Linked DNA regions of Homo sapiens: region 1 is linked to region 2. Evidence: promoter capture Hi-C in human tissues and cell types (Jung and others, 2019). All regions are on one chromosome and are shown on one strand. The core of a region is centred on a gene start or on the middle of the fragment in contact, and the rest is flanking DNA. Distances in the headings are between cores, read along the strand shown. Region 1 has its middle 33 kb from the start of PDCD6IP-DT. Region 2 holds the start of CNOT10 (CCR4-NOT transcription complex subunit 10).

Region 1 (4,193 bases), core at 855-3,354, 1.1 Mb before region 2:
GATCAGTGATATTGAGCACCTTTTTGTATACCTGTTTGCCATTTGTGTGTCTTCTTTTGAGAAATGTCTATTAAAATCTTTTGCCCATTTTGATCAGAATATTAGATTTTTTTCCTATAGAGTTGTTTGAGCTCCTTATACATTCAGGTTATTAATTCTTTGTCAGATGGGCAGTTTGCATATATATATGATACTATATATATGCAAACATATGATATGTTTTATAATATAATATATATTATATCATATATGATACATATCATATGTATCATATATGGTATGTCCATTTTTGCTTTGGTTGCCTATACTCATGGGGTACCACTCAAGAAATTTTTGCCCAGATCAATGTCCTGGAGATTTTCCCCAATGTTAGCTTGTAGTAGTTTCATACTTTGAGGTCTTAGATTTAAGCATTTAATCCATTTTTATGTCATTTTGCATATGGCAAGAGATAGGAGTTTAATTTCATCCCTCTGCATATGGATATCCAGTTTTCCCAACACCATTTATTGAAGAGACTGCCTTCCTCAATGTATTTTCTTGGCACCTTTGTCAAAAATGAGTTCACTGTACGTGTTTTGATTTGTTTCTGAGTTCTCTACTCTGTTCCATTGGTCTATGTGTCTGTTTTTATTCCAGTACCATGCTGTTTTGGTTACTATAGCTCTTTTTATTCCTCCAGTTTCATTCTTTTTGCTTAGGATAGCTTTGCTGTTCTGGGTCTTTTGTGGTTCCATATAAATTTTGGGATTTTTTTTTTCTCTTTCTGTGAAGAATGTCACTGGGTATTTTGTTTTTTGTTTTGTTTTTGATGTCACAAATTACATGCTTTTTATTGTGTATCCATTAACATATTTTACAAATTATTTTTTATCTTTTTGTCTTTTTATAAATGATACTTTAAGTTCTGGGATACATGTGCAGAACCTGCAGGTTTGTTACATAGGTATACACGTGCCATGGTAGTTTGCTGCACCCATCAACCCATCATCTACATTAGGTATTTATCCTAATGCTATCCTTCCCCTAGCTTCCCACCCCCCAACAGGCCCCAGTGTGTGATGTTCCCTTCCCTGTGTCCATGTGTTCTGATTGTTCAACTCCCACTTATGAGTGAGAACATGCGGTATTTGGTTTTCTGTTCTTGTGTTAATTTGCTGAGAATGATGGTTTCCAGCTTCATCCACATACCTGCAAAGGACATGAATGCATCCTTTTTTATGGCTGCATAGTATTACATGGTGTATATGTGCCACATTTTCTTTATCTAGTCTATCATTGATGGGCATTTGGGTTGGTTCCAAGTCTTTGCTATTGTGAACAGTGCTGCAGTAAACATATGTGGAATGTCACTTGTATTTTGATAGAGATTGCATTGAATTTATAGATTGCTTTGAGTAGTATGTATATTTTAACAATATTTATTCTTCCAATCTATGAACATTGGAATATTTTTCCATTTTTTGGTGTCCTCTTCAATTTCTTTCAGGCGTGAGCCAAAATGCCCAGCCTGATTATTTTATATGGACTATTATATTCATCATGCCTTGTAAATATTTCTTGGCCACATAAAAAGAAAATGTGTCTCTGTTTGGAGGATATGAAGTTATATAAATTAGAGTTACATAATTATTTATTAGTTATGTCTTAAGATGTTTACATCTGTTTATTAATTAAGCCTTTAGGAAGTTATTAATTAGATGTTACCTTAAGATGCTTAAATCCATGGTGGAATGACACAGAAAAAAACATACTTTAAAAGATGTTTTTCAACAGATTGAAGTCTACTTGAGGTGGGAGGGGGGAGGGGGAAGAGGAGCAGAAATGGTAACTATTGGGTACTGAGCTTAATACCTGGGTGATATAATAATATCTGCAACAAACCCCCATGACATGTGTTTATCTATGTAACAAACCTTCACATATACTCCCAAACCTAAAATAAAAATTTGTTTAAAGATATTTTTAATACTCCCTTGTTGTAGGCTGTTTCTAGTATTGTAGGGACAAGAAAAAATATTGCTGTTTGAAAAATTATAGCCATAATTTTTGTCTTTCGCTTTATAGGTTATTAGGGAAAACAGTACAGTTCTAACAACCTATAAAGCAAAAGACAAAAATAAAGCAAAGAGTGTTAGTTGATACAAAATAATCAACATTTTACAGTATGGATGATTTAGGAGTAATGATGACTGATGATATACAATTTTTATTTTATTTTATTTTATTTTATTTTTTTGAGACAGGGTCTCTCTCTGTCGCCCAGGCTGGAGTGCAGTGGCGTGATCTAGGCTCACTGCAAGCTCTGCCTCCCGGGTTCACACCATCCTCCTGCTTCAGCCTCCCGAGTAGCTGGGACTACAGGTGCCCACCACCACGCACCAGCTAATTTTTTCCATTTTTTAGTAGAGATGAGGTTTCACCGTGTTAGCCAGGATGGTCTCGATCTCCTGACCTTGTGATCTGCCCTCCTCAGCCTCCCAAAGTGCTGGGATTACAGGCGTGAGCCATCACTCCCGGCCTTTATTTTATTTTTTGAAACAGGGTCTCGCTCTGTCACCCAGGCTGGAGAGCAGTGGCACAATCATGGCTCACTGCAGCCTCAAACTCCTGGGCTCAAGCCATCCTCCCCCTCAGCTTCCCAATTAGAAGGGACTACACGTGCACATCAGCATGCCCAGCTAATTTTTTTATTTTTTTGTAGAGACAGGGTCTCACTATGTTGCCCAAGCTGGTCCCAAACTCCTGGCCTCAAGCAATCCTCCCACCTCAGCCTCCCAAAGTGCTGGGGTTACAGGTGTAAGCCACTGCACTTGGCCTTGGTAAACAGTTTTAATGTTTTATTTTTTTCTATAACAATACTCTAATAATATGCTAAAACTTTTGGTAAGCCTGATATATGAGGTGCTGTGGGGGAAACTGAAGCAAGACATCTTTGAACACTTGATGAAGCAGAGGGCTGCAACTACCTGGGGCAGTTATGATATGGGAAATGGTGACTAGCAGGAAAGGGCCAGTTTTGGTGCTGAGAATTGAGACCATAAGGTGGCAAACAGGAAAGGTTGGATTCAAGTGTGGGTTATTCAGAAGTGGACTTGAGATACTGTCTTCTGCAATATATTAGATAGTGCAAAACGTTGAAACAAGAAGTGACAGCCTGCTGATCCATGGGTTGGTACAATCTGGTTTATATCTAGGTTATGCTATGTTGTAAATAATAATAGCTCAATGCTGTATCGAGCACTTACTATGTGCCAGCCATTAGGCTGAACCATATATATATATATATGGCAACCAGAAATGCCAACAGACATAAATAAAAGGGGAAAAATGTCCAAGAAAAGCCTGTTCTTTCTCACCAAGGGAAAGAACAAGAGAAACCTAGCAAGAGAGAAAACTTAGACAATAATTGTCCTACTGTAGTGAAATGCCACAGGAAAAATTGAGGTCCCCATCCCCACCCTTGTAGACTTCCACTCTCACCCAGCTGGCATGAGGTATTCCTCCTCTCCTCCTCCCCCAACACTGTGATGGTGTCAGAGAAGACCAGGTGGGGCACCTAGGATTGTCACCCTAATCATGCAGTAACAAGCCCCTCCATTCTCCACATTTTCGGGGGAGACCACATGAAAAGCTTGAACCTTCACTTCCACTTGGCAGTAACAAGGCGCATCAACCTTCCCCTGACTGGTGCAGTATCAGAGGAAACCTGATAAAACCAAAGACTTAAATAAGATCCAGAGCCTCACAACATAATAACCAAAGTATCCAGGATTGCATTTTAAAAATCATTCATTATTCCAAGAACCAAGAAGATCTTAACTAGAATGAGAAAAGACAATTCACAGATGGCAACACTGAGACGGCACAGACACTTGAACTGTCTGACAAGGATTTTAGAGCAGCCATCATACAATGACTCGATGAGAAATTTTGAACATGCTTGAAACAAATGAAAAGTAGAAAGCTTTGGTGAAGAAACAGAATATGTAAAGAAGAGCCAAATAAAACCTTTAACTGAAAAAAATACAATAAAATATTAAAACTCACAGGATAAGCTCAATAATAGACTAAGGAAGACAAAAGAATAAATCAATTAATCTGAAGTCAGATCAATAAAATGTAACCAACTTCAACAACATGAAGAAAATACACTGAAGAAAAAAATCAATAGAACCTCAGAGACCTGTGGA
Region 2 (3,739 bases), core at 7-2,506:
ATTGGCTTAATTTCCAAGTGAAGTTCATTTGTCAGTTATTGTGACCAGAACCTACTAAAATCCACAGCACACTGAGTTTTTCTTTAATTTTAAATTAAATTCACTGTAAAAATTTTAAGTTCCATCACTTTTAAATCCTGTCACTTAAGTTCTTTCCAATAAAACCTGGATGCCACAAAGAATATGAATTTCTTGCGGGAAACATTCCGGACAAGGTCAGGAAATAATTTTATATTCCTTAATGTGGAAGATTCTAGGAATGGGAGCAATAATCCATAAAGAAAACCATTGAGATTAAGTAATTTCGAGGAACTAGAGCAATTAAGTACCAAATGCAAGATTTTAGGAGCACAGACTGTAGAGAGACAATAGGATTTTATGCCTTTTTAAATAAGTGGTTTACTTTGAGAGGCCAAGGCGGAAGGATCGCTTGGGCCCAGAAGTTCGAGATCAGCCTGGGCACCATAGCGAGACCCCCGCCCGTCTCTATCAAGAAAAAAAAAAGTGGTTTTTACAAAGTTAATTTCACAGGAGTCAATGACCAGAGGAAGCCACATGTGGTCAAAACAGCCCAGGTGAATCCCAGCCTCAGCCACGCGATATTATAGGCAGATGTGTGCTCCAGGGTGACTTTCTCTTGTCTGCTTTTCCCACGAAGAAGCGGAAAATTCTGCGAAGCGGCAAAATACATTTAAGCTTTTTGGGCCGGAGTTATTCTGAAGAGCAGGGCAAAGGCGGCCAGTGGCGACTTCAAATACTGCACTTGAGTAAAACAACTATTGGACCCGGGGCCCGAAGACTCATGTTAGCGACAGCCGAGACAGAGGATGGGGTAAAGAAATGCACGCCCAAATTCAAGTCGCCCTGGAGTCCCCACCCCGGGCCCCGCCGCCTCCGAGTTCAGGGTCCGCCCGGCCCCGCACGTCCCGCCGTCTCGTCGCTCGGGACATTGGCGCCCTACCTGCAGGCTTGTCTGCAGCCATCTTCCCGCTTCGACTCGGGTTCTTCCCTGCAGGTGGCGTGGCCCTGACTCCCGCCGCCGGGCTGGCCGCTGTCCTGGACCTCCGAGGACAACTCTGTGCCTACCCCGGCTCCGGGCCCCCAGGTTCCGGCTAGAGGAGTGGGCAGACGGCGGGCTGAGGAAGTGACGAGAGCTAGTTCCCGTCGTCTAGCAACAGCAACAGCTTCCCCACCAAGGGACCGCCACAGCCTCCCGCCATACACAGCTTCCGCCTCACGGCGTCCCGGTACCCACTACTTCCGGGGGCGGCAGCCTGCCGCGCCTGGAGCGCCGGCGTGGGAACTGCTACTGGCCCCGCCCCACGCCGACGTCCCCTCCGCGCCCCGCCTCCGGCCGGACGTACTCTGGCTGGAACCTCTGGATGTTCACAGGGCTGACGCGGTGGGACGTACGCGCGTCTGTCCTTTGCTTACTCTAATTAAAACACCGAGGTGTCAGAGCTTTTGTCCCTCAATGTTACATAATATTACAATAACCACATCTGACATTTATGTGCTAAGCACTGAGCCCTGCACTTGGTCTGTACTATCTCATTGATTTCTTGCAACCCCATGAGAGAGGCGCTGTTGAGGATTCCCGTTTAAAAAGAAACGCCTTTTATTTTAGAATAGTTGTAGTTGTGCAGAAAAGTTGCAAAGATGACACCTAGAGTTCCTGTCTCCTCACCTAGTTTCTCCTATTGTGAACATCTTAATTATTTTACTATGTTACGTTGATCACATCTAAGAAACCAGTTTGATTGGCGCACTATTACTCACTAAACTACACATTTTATTCACATTTACCAGCTTTCTTTCAATGTCCTTTTTTTGTTGTTGTTCCAGGATCCTGTCCAGGACACCATATTGCATTTATTCATTATGTCGTCTTAGGCTATTTTTGGCTGTGGCAGTTTCTCAGATTCTTCTTGTTTTTGATGACCTTGACAGTTTTGAAGAGTTACTCCTCAGATATTTGGTGGAATGTGCCTCAATTTGGGTTTGGCCAATATTTTTCTCATGGTTAGACTGGGGTTTTGGGTGTTTAGGAGGAAGACCACAAGGTGACTGGCTGTTCTCATCACATAGAATCAAGGGTACATGCTGTCAAAATGACATCACTGATCATGTTAACCTTGATTACCTCTCTAAGGTAGTGCTTGCCAGTTTTCTCTACTGTGCAATTACTCCTCCTACCCTTCCACACTACTTTGGAACCAAGTCAATAAATGCAACCCACACTCAAGGTGGGAAGGCGGGGTATTTAAGCTCTACCTCCTGCAGTGGGGAGTATGTACATAAATTATCTTCCCCAAGGGAAGTTTGCCTCTTCTCCCTCACTTAGCTATTTATATCAGTATGGACTCATGGATGTTTATCTTATAATGGTTACATTCCAATACTACATTATTTTGTTGCTAAAATTGTCCCAGCTTTGTTAATTGGGAGATTTTTCAGGTTTGTACCTGTTTTTTTCTTTTTTTTTAACTTTTGTTTTAAACTTTCTTTTAAAAAAGTATTTGTTTTTGGCCGGGCGTGGTGGCTCACACCTGCAATCCCAGCACTTTGGGAGGCCAAGGCAAGTGGATCACTTGAGGTCAGGAGTTTGTGACCAGCCTGGCCAACATGGTGAAACCCCGTCTCTACTAAAAATACAAAAATTAGCTGGGCGTGGTGGTGTGCACCTGTAATCCCAGCTACTTGGGAGGCTCAGGCAGGAGAATCCCTTGAATCCGGGAGGCGGAGATTGCAGTGAGCCAAGATTGCCCCACTGCACTCCAGCCTGGGCAACAGAGTGAGACTCTGTCTCAAAAAAAAAAAAAAGTATTTGTTTTTTCTTAAACTTTTTAATTCAGGCTAACATACACAAAGAAAAGTGCATGAATCATAAGTACAGTGTATTGACTTTTCATCAACTCAACACATACATATAACTAGCACCCAGAGAAAGGGCAGAGCTTTACCCATATCTGGGAGTTCCCCTCATGCCTCTTCCCATCTCTCCACAAAGATAATCATTATGCTGACATTTAACACTATGGATTAGCTTCACCTGCTTTTAAACTTAATGTATATACATTATACAATATATTTTTTAGGGTCTAGCTTCTTTTGCTCGATAGTATGAGATTCATTGACATTGTTGAATGAAGTTGTATTTGTTTCTCATTGTTATATATTATAATGTTACATTATGTGAATATTCCTTAATTTATGTATTCATTTTATTGTTGGGCATTTGGATATTTTATCTATTTTGAATAGGGCCAATATGATTACTCTAGTATGACTTTTGATGAATATGTGCCCACCATAAAAAGGCATACCTGGCTGGGCAAAGGCATACCTGGCCGGGCACGGTGGCTAATGCCTGTAATCCCAGCACTTTGGGAGGCCGAGGCAGGCAGATTACCTGAGATCAGGAGTTTGAGATCAGCCTGGCCAACATGGTGAAACCCCGTCTCTACTAAAAAAAAATACAAAAATTAGCCGGGCGTTGTGGCGGGTGCCTGTAATCCCAGCTACTTGGCAGGCTGAGGCAGGAGAATTGTTTGAACCCGGGAGGCAGAGGTTGCAGTGAGCCGAGGTCGTGCCATTGCACTGCAGCCTGGCCAACAAGAGCAAAAGTCTATCTCAAAAATAAATAAATAAATAAATAAAATAAAGAATAAAAAATAATAAAAAGGCACACCTGAAGTGTAGTAGGGAGCCTCTTAATGAAAAGGAATTAGGAGGAATC

Evidence for each region. The method cuts DNA at HindIII sites, captures the fragments that hold promoters and counts their contacts. A contact is called where the count stands out against the background at its distance.
Region 1: a fragment that was not itself captured here is called in contact with the fragment with the promoter of CNOT10 in region 2 in 1 of the 25 tissues and cell types used here (bladder).

Annotation. Positions count from the first base shown.
Region 1 is chr3:33,762,964-33,767,156 of GRCh38, reverse strand. No RefSeq gene overlaps it. Among named protein-coding and RNA genes, the nearest start is that of PDCD6IP-DT, 33 kb to the left of the region's middle. The HindIII fragment of the contact is 7,177 bases long and covers 1-4,193 here.
Region 2 is chr3:32,682,705-32,686,443 of GRCh38, reverse strand. CNOT10 (CCR4-NOT transcription complex subunit 10) reads right to left here and starts at 1,256. Exons shown (of 19, transcript NM_015442.3): 1 at 962-1,256. The coding sequence starts at 983. RefSeq lists a silencer at 1,146-1,455. The HindIII fragment of the contact is 8,061 bases long and covers 1-3,739 here.